Regions from separate parts of the Homo sapiens genome. Here region 2 is linked to region 1. The links are contacts of gene promoters, found by promoter capture Hi-C in human tissues and cell types (Jung and others, 2019). All regions are on one chromosome and are shown on one strand. Each heading gives the region's core, a stretch centred on a gene start or on the middle of the fragment in contact. The rest is flanking DNA. Distances are from core to core; before and after follow the strand shown. Region 1 holds the start of ZNF318 (zinc finger protein 318). Region 2 overlaps CUL9 (cullin 9).

Region 1 (3,067 bases), core at 363-2,862:
AAAAGTATGGGTAACCAAAATCCATATATACTCTAATAAAGACAGGGCATACACCTCTGGCATATTTTTATTATTTTTTTCATTAAAATGTTATTGGTTTCTTATTTTATATAAATTATATAAAATGTGAAGCTGGGTAAAAGTAGTCAACTAGTAAAAATTTTATACATTTTTACTGAGTATATGCCATTATAAGAACGTATGGAAATGGATATATATATATATGGATGTATTTTTTGAGAGAGGGTCTCACTCTGTCACCCAGGCTGGAGTGCAGTGGCATGATCACAGCTCACCGCAGCCTCAACCTCCCGAGTAGCTGGGGTACAGGAACGTGCCACCACACTCGGCAAATTTTTTTTTTTTTTTTTTAGAAATGGAGGTCCTTCTACGTTGCCCAGGCTGGTCTCGAACTCTCAGGCTCAAGCAATCCTCCTGCCCCGGCCTCCCAAAATGGTGGGATTATAGGCGTGACCCTTTGCGCCTGGCCCACTTTTGTATTTAGGATGCAGGGCCCTGAGATTGGCATCTAGGAAAATTCTGGACTTAGGCCAGGGGAGGGGGCATGCCTGGATCTCTTACAAAAACTTGCCACGCCTCCAGTTGGTCATGATGTGGGCCCCTGGTAATGAAGGACCTCCACCATGACCACAAGTACTTTAGTCAGAAAACAGCTCGAAAACGTGTGAAGAGAGTCCACCAAACAGGCTTCGTGTGAGCAACAAGGCTGTTTATCTTACCTGGGTGCAGGCGGGTTGAGTCCGAAAAAGGAGTCAGCAGAGGGTGGTGGAATTATCATTAGTTCTTATAGGTTTGGGATAGGTGTACAAAGTACATTCTTAAGGGCGGGGGAGAATATTACAAAGCACCTACTTAAGGGCAAGGGGGAGAATATATCCTGTCAGTTAGGGTGGGGCAGGAACAAATCACAATGGTGGAATGTCATCAGTTAAGGCTATTTTCACTTCTTTTGTGGCTCTTCAGTTGCCTCAGGCCATCTGGATGTATACGTGCAGGTCATAGGGGATATGATGGCTTAGCTTGGGCTCAGAGGCCTGACAACGTCTATTTTGGGTTTGATTCTGGCCCACCACCTCCACCTCGTACTTTCCTATCCTCAATTTCAACCTCTAGAAATTAGGCAAACTGGAAAGTAAACTGATGCGGGTCGTGTTGCTTCAGCTGGGGACAGGATTTCGGTGGGCGCTCCTGCCGGGGTCCGTAACCTCCCACACAGCTAACGTTTACAGGCCCGTTTATATTATCACGAATGGTTTTCAACCATTTCGTGTCCATCCCTAAATTAAGAGGCTTGAGGGGCGGCACGAAAGAGCGAAGACACCTCCGCACGGTCTCCAAACCCCTAAGTCCAGAGGCCTGGAGCATCCCCGGAAAACCAGATCCCTCTCCAGAGAAGCCCTTCCTTCCGCTCCGCCCACCCCGCGCGGAGGCCACAGGGGTCACGTGGCGGCCGCGGGAGGGGGAAGTGGGCGGCTCTGCGGCCGCCATCTTGAGGATTCGGAGGCGGGGCGTGCAGAGCTCAGGGCGCGCGCTTCGCTTCCCCTCCCCTCGCCCAGCCTCGCGCCGGCGTCTGTGCTCCTCCCCACTTTTCTTGGTTCCTGCGGCCGCTCCCTGAGTGGAGGAGCGGGGAACCCCGGAGGCGGGGGGGGGTGTGTCGGACGCGTGCTCGCGCCCTCCAACCGCCAGCCGCGGGGGCGCGCTCGGCCGGGCCCCCGGGGCGACGCGGGGCCGAGGGGAGGGGGCTGCTCCCGCGGCTGAGGCGGCGCGCAGCGGCCGAGGTGGCGGCGGCTGCAGCTGCGGCGGCGCGCTCCGAGCCTGCGTCTAGGGCGCCCCCGGGTCAGAGCTGTCGCCGTGGCCGCCGCTGCAAGAACCATGTACCGCAGCAGCGCTCGCTCCTCCGTCTCTTCCCACCGGCCTAAAGACGACGGCGGGGGCGGCCCGCGCAGCGGCCGCAGCTCTGGCTCCTCCTCAGGCCCGGCTCGCCGCAGCTCACCGCCGCCTCCGCCCTCCGGCTCCTCGTCGCGGACCCCGGCTCGCCGACCCCGCTCGCCCTCAGGGCACCGCGGCCGCCGGGCCTCGCCGTCCCCGCCACGGGGTCGTCGCGTCTCCCCGTCCCCGCCTCGGGCCCGTCGCGGCTCCCCGTCGCCACCGCGGGGCCGACGACTCTTCCCGCCGGGCCCGGCCGGCTTCAGAGGCAGCAGCCGGGGGGAGTCCCGCGCCGACTATGCCCGGGACGGCCGCGGAGACCATCCAGGCGACAGCGGCAGCCGGGTAATCCCACCCCTCGTCCAGGACTCCCTCCATCCCCCAGTCCCCTCCCCCGGAATTCCCGTTTCCAGAAACGCCCGGGGCCTCCAGACCAGGGTCCTAAGCGCGAAGCCTCCGGCCAACTCCCTCGGGGATGCCGAGCCTGGAGGCTTCTGTCAGACCCGGGAGCGTTGACACAATAACGGACTCGGGAGCGCACGGGCGTCTCGTCGGGAGTGCGCGCTCCGTTCCTTAGGAATAGGCTGTTTCTCTCATGCCGGGTGAGGTGTGGAAAGTTTGCCAAGGCGAGGGGCATTTCGTCCAAACCGTGTGTCTTGGTACTTTTTGTAGAGTTGATGTGTCCTCGGGGTTCCGTACTTTTCATCCCCTTACACCTGAGCTGCCTTCCTGGATCTTAGGGGAAAAAGCCGAAATGTCCGTTTTTGTGGCGAGTTAGGGACGCTTGAACCCTACCAGGCTTTACGTCTAGAGTGTAAACTGTTAGCTTAAATGAATTGGAGCTGCTGCTTCGGAATGAAGTGTGCAGGACCACAGTCACTGCCATAGCCACTACCTCTTATCGAGTTCTATGTCAGGAATTATGCCTAGCCTTTCACTTTGCACATTATTTTAACCCTCACAAGTCTTTGAAGTGAGGCAGTTAATACTATTCCTTGTTGTACAGCCGAGGAACCAACCCAGAGAGGTTCAAGTAACTCGACTGAGGTGACACGGCTAAGTGGTGGAGCTGTGCTTCAACTCAGATCCGCCTGGTTCCCCAAATCCATGATTTGAACCT
Region 2 (3,008 bases), core at 357-2,856, 170 kb after region 1:
AAAGAAGGGGATATTGATGGGTTGGTGGGTTCGTCTGTGGTCTTCGATCTGGCCCAGCACCATCTGCAGCCGGAACATCAGGGAGAATGAGGAAGAGGAGAGGGAGGAACACAGAGAAATGCCCAGAAACAGGTAGAGAGAAAAAGTCAAGGGTCAACGGTATACTCAACTCCTCTCTCCCCACATTTTGACAGAACCATGTGGAGTCAAGGTTAGGAAACAAGTGCCCCAGATTTGCTACAACCTGTGCCAAACAGGGATACCAAAGAGGAACACAGTGAATCCCCTTCTCCTGCTTCTGACTTGCATTCTCTCAGCTGCATACCCACAGCCGCTCCTCACCTGAATGCAGCCGGCCAGGATGCTGGAGGTGAGGTTGCTATAGAGCTGTGCGTACTTCTCACACTCTGTCACCAGGTCCCGAAGCTCACAGCCCAGCAGCAGCTGAGCTGAGTGCTTGTCCAGGACTTTGGAGAGGATCTCTTTTGCTCCCAGGCAGCAGAGCACCACAGCATAGTCCTTATGCATCGAGGCCAGGCGATGTAGGAAGCAGGTCAGCTCCTGAACAATCTGAGCCCAGAGCCACATAGATTAATTTACAGGAAACAAGAGGTAGGACATGTAAGGATTGAGGAGAGGGTTCAGTAAAGGAAGTGTCGTGGCTGAGATTGTGGAGACATGCCAACGCCCAGGGAAACAAGAGTACCAAATTCAGGGTGGAGTAAAATAGAGGAGTGCTGGGACTCCAGAGTGAGTTGGCAGAACAGAGCTTGGGCACAGCTTTCCAGGCTGCTTCCTGCCCAGGCCAAGCTATGTTAACCCTGGTGCCTGAGCCTTGCTCTCCAATGCACAAACCCGGAAGGGAGGACAGCTGTCTGGATTGGTGAATGTGGGCTTCTCCTTAGTCCAGAATCTAAACTCCAAATCTAAAATCATCTAAAAGGTTTATACTTCAAAGATTCCAGTTCTGGAGATTCTTAGATTACATTACCCTTCCTCCTCCTACACCCATCCCAGTGCCCCAAGATCCATTCAGAAAGGCTCTGCTGTGCCCTCCAGAGCCTCACAAGGAGTTGGTGCCCCAGATGCTGCCCTTCCCTCTCTTCTCCTTGCCAGGGTTCTGGTACCTCGGAGTCACTGCTAGGGCCACTCAGGCAGTTGAGGCAGGGCTCCAAGACCTCGTGCCAGGGGAGGACCATTGCCTCAGGGAAATCCAGCAGTCGGGTTATGACCCTGGTGAGGGGGTAGAAACGAGTGAAGTCAGGCCAGGCACAGTGGCTCATGCCTGTAATCCCAGCACTTTGGGAGGCCGAAGTGGGCGGATCACCTGAGGTCGGGAGTTCGAGACCAGCCTGACCAAAATGGAGAAACCCCATCTCTACTAAAAATACAAAATTAGCTGGGCATGGTGGCACATGCCTGCAATCCCAGCTACTCGGGAGGCTGAGGCAGGAGAACCACTTGAACCTGGGAGGTAGAGGTTGCAGTGAGCTGAGATCGTGCCATTGCACTCCAGCCTGGGCAACAAGAGTGAAACTCCAACTCAAAAAAAAAAAAAAGAAAACAGAAAAGAAACAAGTGAAGTCCCTGAAGTCTGCCAGTTTCCCTCGTCCCAATGCATGGTGCCTCAACAGGCCCCTCACCTCAGCACAGACAGCAGCAGAGTCTTGTTGGGCCCCGGAGCATCCAGAGTCCGCAGCAACAGGAGGAAAGGCTGGGTCTCCTGCTGGAGGCGCTTGAGGAGGGGCCTCACGGCACCTCCGGGGCTGCCCTCACGGCACAGCACACGCTCCAAGTCCAGGAGTAGTTCTGCAGATGGGCCCCCAACCAGGGATCGAATCAGTAGCTCAGGGGACCCATCCTGACCCTGGATGATGGGGGTCTCTAGTGCTGCAGCCAGACACACCAGAGGGAAAAATGTGGATGAAGAGTCTTACCAGTTTGTCAAACTGAGAACTGGGAAGGTCCAGAAAATCACCCCAAAATTTTCCTTCTATATTGAGGATGTCTATAGTTTTTAACCAAACTATGAGGGGTTTTCTTTCCTGACCCCAAATACAAACCTAATCAGATTTGAAAAAAAAACCTAGTATAGCAAACACTGTCGAGTTAAACACAAGACATTTTAAATCTCTTATAGTCCTATTATTAAATGTTAGTTATAGTAAATATTAACTATGATGATTATATCCCTGTACTACCTGCATGGTGGCTTTAGGTACACAGACTAAAAGATACATACATATTTCCTATTTTGTAGGAATACACAGAGCGCTGTCACCCAGGCTGGAGTGCAGTGGCATGATCTTGGCTCACTGTGACCTCCAACTCCTGGGCTCAAGTGATTCTCCTGCCTCAGCCTCCCAAGTAGCTGGGATTACAAGCACCTACCACCGTGCCCGGCTAATTTTTGTATTTTTAGTAAAGATGCGGTTTCACCATGTTGGCCGGGCTGGTCTCAAACTGCTGACCTCAAGTGATCTGCCTGCCTCAGCCTCCCAAAGTGCTGGGATTAAAGGCATGAGCTATTGCACCTGGCCACGTATTTCCTATTTCAATATCCCTCCACACTTCTAGGTTTTCACTTGTTTTTCAATCACAAAGGGTTTCTTCCCCAGTATCAATATCTAATGTTTCCAGGCACAAGTGTTCTGTACCATAAATTATAATTTCTCTTAAGAAGGCCTCCCTATTCTGTGAAGAGAAAGTTAAGCTTAGGCCAGGCACAGTGGCTCACGCCTCTAATCCCAGCACTTTGGGAGGCCAAGGCGGTCAGATCACGAGGTCAGGAGTTCAAAACCGGCCTGACCAACATGGTGAAACCCTGTCTCTACTAAATATACAAAAATTAGCTGGGTGTGGTGGTGCGCACCTGTAATCCCAGCTACTCAGGAGGCTGAGGCAGGAGAATTCCTTGAACCCGGGAGGCGGAGCTTGCAGTGAGCAGAGATCGTGCAACTGCATTCCAGCCTGGGCGACAGAGTGAGACTCCACCTCCAAAAAAAAAC

The links. The method cuts DNA at HindIII sites, captures the fragments that hold promoters and counts their contacts. A contact is called where the count stands out against the background at its distance.
Region 2: a fragment that was not itself captured here is called in contact with the fragment with the promoter of ZNF318 in region 1 in 3 of the 25 tissues and cell types used here (H1 embryonic stem cells, liver and mesenchymal stem cells).

The regions. Positions count from the first base shown.
Region 1 is chr6:43,368,192-43,371,258 of GRCh38, reverse strand. It overlaps ZNF318 (zinc finger protein 318), which reads left to right and starts at 1,612. Exons shown (of 10, transcript NM_014345.3): 1 at 1,612-2,292. The coding sequence starts at 1,894. LOC124901227 (atherin-like) reads right to left here and starts at 1,895. Exons shown (of 2, transcript XM_047419609.1): 1 at 1,872-1,895; 2 at 1-1,836. The coding sequence starts at 1,895. The coding sequence ends at 1,138. RefSeq lists silencers at 1,359-1,458, 1,649-1,848, 1,939-2,128, 2,139-2,208. The HindIII fragment of the contact is 7,376 bases long and covers 1-3,067 here.
Region 2 is chr6:43,197,491-43,200,498 of GRCh38, reverse strand. It overlaps CUL9 (cullin 9), which reads right to left. Exons shown (of 41, transcript NM_015089.4): 12 at 1,644-1,890; 13 at 1,128-1,233; 14 at 343-570; 15 at 1-63. Among named protein-coding and RNA genes, the nearest start is that of CUL9, 17 kb to the right of the region's middle. The HindIII fragment of the contact is 5,147 bases long and covers 1-3,008 here.